Linked DNA regions of Homo sapiens: region 1 is linked to region 2. Evidence: promoter capture Hi-C in human tissues and cell types (Jung and others, 2019). All regions are on one chromosome and are shown on one strand. The core of a region is centred on a gene start or on the middle of the fragment in contact, and the rest is flanking DNA. Distances in the headings are between cores, read along the strand shown.

Region 1 (2,700 bases), core at 133-2,632, 60 kb after region 2:
TTCCCTGGGTACTTTCTTCTCACATACATCCATATCAGCCCTTTGCCAAAGGCTTGAGGGCATCTTCCATAGCTCTCCAGAGTTCATGTGCTCTCTTCTCCCACCTCCTCCCTGGTACTCTACCTCACAAATTCTACCAGCCTTGAAGATCTTCCCAAGCTCTGATCTCTGTCTCCTCAATCCACCAAGACCACTGGACTTTGGATTTCCCTCCCTGCATTGGAGCCTGTAAGTGCTTCCGGCAGTAAACTGAGGACACTGTAGGGTTCACCTTCTTTTAGGGATCATAGTTCTGCTCGACCTGTTCTCTGATGTCTGAAAACTATTGTTTTATATATGTTGTTCCATTTTTCTAGTTGTTCAAGGTGGGAGGCAAATCTGGTCCCTGTTAGCAATCATGGCCACATGTAGAGGTTGCAGGATGTTGTTTACATCTGTATCTTTTTTTTTTTTTTGAGACAGGATCTTGCTCTGTCACCCCAAGTGGCGCCATCTCGGCTCACTGCCACCTCCACTTCATGGCCTCAAGCGATCCTCCCACCTCAGCCTCCCAAAGTGCTGGGATTACAGGTGTGAGCCACTGCACCCGGCCTAAAATTGTATCTTTCTTATTATCAGTGAAGTTAAACATTTTTTCCTGTGTGTCAGTGGCATTTGCGCTTCTTTTTCTTTGAACTTTCATATATATTTTTCCATTTTTCTTAGAACTGTTGGTCTTTGTCTTCTCTACTTTTAGAATAGAATGAATATGATATTAATCGTACTTCGAATTGTGGCCATGATGGAGTACCTGTATTGATGATGGTCTCCCAGCATAAACAACTACAAAGCTGGACAAAGTACATGAAGAAATTGTCTTCAGCCATTGGGCAATAGGCAGTTCCAGGTACAATCTGAGAGAAGGGAATCACATGAAGTGACTGCTGTGTTTTTCTGGTGGGGAAAGTTTCTAAACCCTCAATGACAGCATGAGGAAGCAGAGTTCAGGCAATGAGGATCAGTCTTGTTTGGTGGAGGAAACAGAGACTGCTGCTCAGGGCTGCTAAAATGTGTGTGGCAGAGTATCAGAAAGGATGGAGTTGCAGAGGAGAAGCCCCAGAAATCTTATAGAGGTTGCTGCAGGTCCTTGGCCAAATCCCAAACTCTGAATGTGTGGATTGAGACTCTGCAAGGCCCAGCACAGAACAGCTGATGGGGAGCTGAGAGCTAAACAGCGATTTCAGTGGTCACAGAGTGCTGGAAACACATCTGAATTCTGGCTCAGCCAGAGTCTCCACTCTTGGAATCTCAGGTCTTGATGAATATCCCAGACATTCACAGAGGGCCTAGAAGGCCATGCCTTAGGATTAAGGAAGATTCTCTAGGAATAAGAGCAAAACTGAAAAACAGCTCACCCTAACAAAACCTAAAATGTAGCCTTGACACTCAAGATCAAGTTAACCCAACAGCAATTTAATTCCCTGCCAAAATAAAACTCAACACTAGAGTAGGATAACATAACCCACATCTCTACAATGAAGGTTCACAACGTCCAACAGCTCAAGAAATACTAGATGTGTGAAAAAGCGAGAAAATATATCCTAAAATTAAGAGAAAACCAGTCAATACAAACAGATGCACCGTGCATGGTGGCTCATGCCTGTAATCCTAGCACTTTGGGAGGCCAAGGCAGGTAGATCACTTGAGCTCAAGACTTTGAGACCAGCCTGGGCAACATGGCATAACCCCATCTCTACTAAAAATTCAAAACTGAGTTGGGTGTGGTGGTGTGCAGGGGCCCATAACCCCCAGGCTGTGGACTGTACCCGTCGGTGACCTGGTAGGAACCAGGCTGCGCAGCAGGAAGTGAGTGGTGGACAGCGAGCATTACTGCCTGAGCTCCGCCCCCCATCAGATCAGCAGGCATTAGATTCTCATAGAAGCGTGAACCCTAATGTGAACTGCACATGTGAGGAATCTAGGTTTCACACTCTTTATGAGAATCTAATGCCTGATGATCTGAAGTGGAACAGTTTCATACCATAACCACCACCCCTGACCCCGTCTGTAGAAAAATTGTCTTCCGTGAAACCAGTCAGGACTGCTGGTGGCATGTGCCTGTGGTCCCAGCTACTTGGAAGGCTGAGGTGGAAGGATGGCTTGGGCCTGGGAGGTGCAGGTTGCAGTGAGCTGAGATCATGCCACTGCAATCCAGCCTGGACAACAGAGTGAGATCTTGTCTCAAAAAAAAAAAAAAAAAGGGCCGGGCACAGTGACTCACACCTGTAATCTGAGCACTTTAGGAGGCTGAGGTGGGTGGATCACCTGAGGTCAGGAATTCAAGACCAGCCTGGCCAACATGGTGAAACCCCATCTCTACTAAAAATACAAAAATTAGCTGGGCGTGGTAACATGCGCCTATAGTTCCATCTGCTCGGGAGGCTGAGGTAGGAGAATTGCTTGAACCTGGGAGGTGGAGGTTGCAGCGAGCTGAGATGGCACCATTGCATGCCAGCCTGGGATACAAGAGCAAAAATCCATTTCCAAAAAAAAAAAAAAGCAGACCCATAAATGGCTCACACATTGGAATTAGCAGGCAAGAGCTTTAAAGTAACTACATACATACGTTAAAGAATTTAGAGAAATATCAACCCTTGGTGAAGATGGTTAAAAGAGAATTTAGAGAAATGATTTTTAGTATAAGTATGTCCTAAATATGCA
Region 2 (2,700 bases), core at 101-2,600:
CTCCGGCAAGCCTGGCAGCCGGTTGGCTGACAGGCTCAGTGTAGTCACATTGGCCGGGAAGCCAGGCGGCACGGATTCTAGGTCGCGGTAGGCACAGTCGGCGATCTGGAAGCCATACTTTTCCCCACAGTCGCAGGGCTCAGGGCAGGCCTGAGCCAGGCCCAGGAGAAGCGCCCACCAGAGCAGATGCAGCTCCTGCATGGTGCCTCCTGCAGAGAAAGGCATGTCACCCAGGGGATCCCGAGAACCTGCCAAAGGGACTCATTCCTCCCACAAGCCCAGCCAGAGCTCTTTCCCATCAGGAGGCCCTGTCCCACATAACCCAGCTAAATCCCAACACCACCTAGCCCACCGCCCCCATCCTACGGAAGGAGAAACTGAGGCCAAGAGAAGGGCGGAGACTTGCCCGAGGTCACGCAGCCAGGCAGGATGAAGACGGGATGGAAGAGGACCCCAGCTCCTCCTCCGAGTGGAGAGTTCTCCCTGCCTCGGCCTGTTCCTAGCTGACTTTATGACTTGAAATCTGTTTTCCAGCCACCCCCCTCCCCCAGCACTTTGCAGAACCTCCCCCTGCCCTCCCACATCCTGGCCGCAGTCCCTCCCACCGGAGCCCCCCATAGGTATGCTTTGCCTTGGCCCAGACGAGGCCCCTTGTGCAGTGCACACCACCCCCATCCACTCCACCCGCCCTCTCCCGCTCCTCCGGCCATGACCGCAGCAGACACCAGGCCTTTTCTGTGGAATCACACCCGTGGCCTGTTCTGTTCAAACTTAGCCAGGCAGCTGCCTAAATAAACCCCCGCCAGGACCTCTCAGCTGACTTGGGTGAGGCCAGAGGCTCAGCCCAAACGCAGCTGGGATTTCTGGGGCCTCAGTTGTGGGTTGTGGAAGAAGCAGATGCCCCCTGGACGGCTCCAAGCTAGGGATTGTCCCACGCACCTCAGACCAGCAGGGATGGACCAAGAGGGAACCAGCCCCTATGTCCAACAGGCCTCCCGCTCCCGCCGCTGGCCCTGGAGCCCTCCTCCCCACTGGCTTACCTTCAAGCTACTCTTAGTCAAGCGGAGCCTCTTCTAAGGTGGAACCAAAAAGCAACAGAGGACCTTAGCCCTGAGAGTCTGCAGGGCCACGGGCGCCCAAGGGAGGACTTGGATGCTGGGGCGAGGGGCAGCCTGGTCCCACCCCACCTTCGATGTGCAGGCCTGTGCCCTCCCTGCCCCAGACAGGGTGCCTGGAACCATCCACTGAGAGGAGGCGGCAGGGAGGAGCCCGGGGCAGCCCGCGCACTCCCTCCTTCCAGCAAAACAACTGCTTCTCTGCAGCAACAAGGACCTGTGTTTCATAAGTGACACCAGAAACTTGAGGGGGGAAGAGATGCCAAATTTTTTTGGGTTGTGTTTTTTCTCTCTCTCTCACTCACTTTTAGCAGCTTCAACTTCCTTAAAGACACAGCACTGTCTGGAAAGGACCCAAGAAATGATGGGGCCAGGAGGATTTTAGCGGGGGAAGGGCGAGAAATTGAATCTCATGGAAGGTGGGAGATTTCCACTTCAAACAAGAAAAAACGGGAAGCTTTTGTCCAAGCCAGGGTTGTATGTGTGTTGGTGTGTATACGTGTGTGTGTGTGTACAAGTTTGTGGGTGTGAGGGTGCGTATTTCTGGATTTGTATGTGTGTTTGCATGGATGTGGGTATGAAACCATGTACATGAGTTTGTGTGTGAGTGTGTGTGTGTGTCTGTCTTGGTGTGGGTTTGTGTGTGGAAGTGAGTGTGCATCCATGTGTGTGTGTTTCAGTGAAAAGCCAAGAAGGCCAAAGTGTACAAAGCAGATACCAACCCTTCGGTGAAAGCCAAGATGTTAGGCATTTTTTTTTTTTTTAAGAAAACATATCCTGCTGGCTCTGAGACTGAGCTGCGCTAAATGCATGTTGTTGTCCAGGGAGCTCCCAAGACTCCAGGCCCCGCCCCTCACTGCGCTCCCCACTGGCTGGGGAGGAAACAGGGAGGCCTGGCTCAGAAAACTCAGGGCGGGAGCCTGTTGACCTTCAGTGCTCCTGGCTGGGATTCTGAGCCACCCAGGCCCACTGCCCACTGGGCACCCAGAGGGGAGGCCAAGGGGCCGCACTCCCGGAGAGTTCTCTCTGTGTCCCCCACAGGGCCCAAAATCCCACTGTTGGTGCTGGACATCTACGCGGTCAGCATCGGCCTCTCTGAGCTCCACTGTTCCAACACCAACTGTGTGGAAGGGGCAGACGCCTCCAGGGTGAGGATATGTGACCCCTTTTCCAAACGGGAAGGCCCAGGGGAGGGGAATGGGGAAACAAAAGAGGCCCAAAACGAGGGAGCTGGAAGAGAAACCGAAAGATGAAGGAGCCCAGAAAAGAACTTTGTAGACTGAAGAATTTTGCTCTCCACAGACAAGCCTACCGTATCCCCTCAGTAGCCCTCCCCAAGCTTCCTTGGCCTTCCATCTGATAACTGGTTGAATTCTGCTCATGACTCAACTTACCCTCTCAGCAGGGCCAAGGGCAGACAGGGCTCATCTTTGGCTGAAAGCATCCCCAGGAAGCCTGCCCCAGCTCATCACACCCCATTCCCTGTCACCAAGCAAGGCCACAGAAGTCCCCAGCATGCTGCCTGCAAAACACCCGAGTCTGATGCTGAGGATATTATTATGGTCCAATGGAGAGCACCCTCTCT

The links. Contacts are between HindIII fragments. The study calls those that stand out against the background at their distance.
Region 1: a contact is called between a fragment that was not itself captured here and the fragment with the promoter of ISLR in region 2, in 1 of the 25 tissues and cell types used here (liver).

The regions. Positions count from the first base shown.
Region 1 is chr15:74,112,368-74,115,067 of GRCh38, reverse strand. It overlaps a transcript of ISLR2 not described here. Among named protein-coding and RNA genes, the nearest start is that of ISLR2, 17 kb to the left of the region's middle. The HindIII fragment of the contact is 8,895 bases long and covers 1-2,700 here.
Region 2 is chr15:74,172,360-74,175,059 of GRCh38, reverse strand. ISLR (immunoglobulin superfamily containing leucine rich repeat) reads right to left here and starts at 1,350. Exons shown (of 2, transcript NM_005545.4): 1 at 1,041-1,350; 2 at 1-209. The coding sequence starts at 201. RefSeq lists enhancers at 1-628, 629-1,616, 1,617-2,605. The HindIII fragment of the contact is 13,967 bases long and covers 1-2,013 here.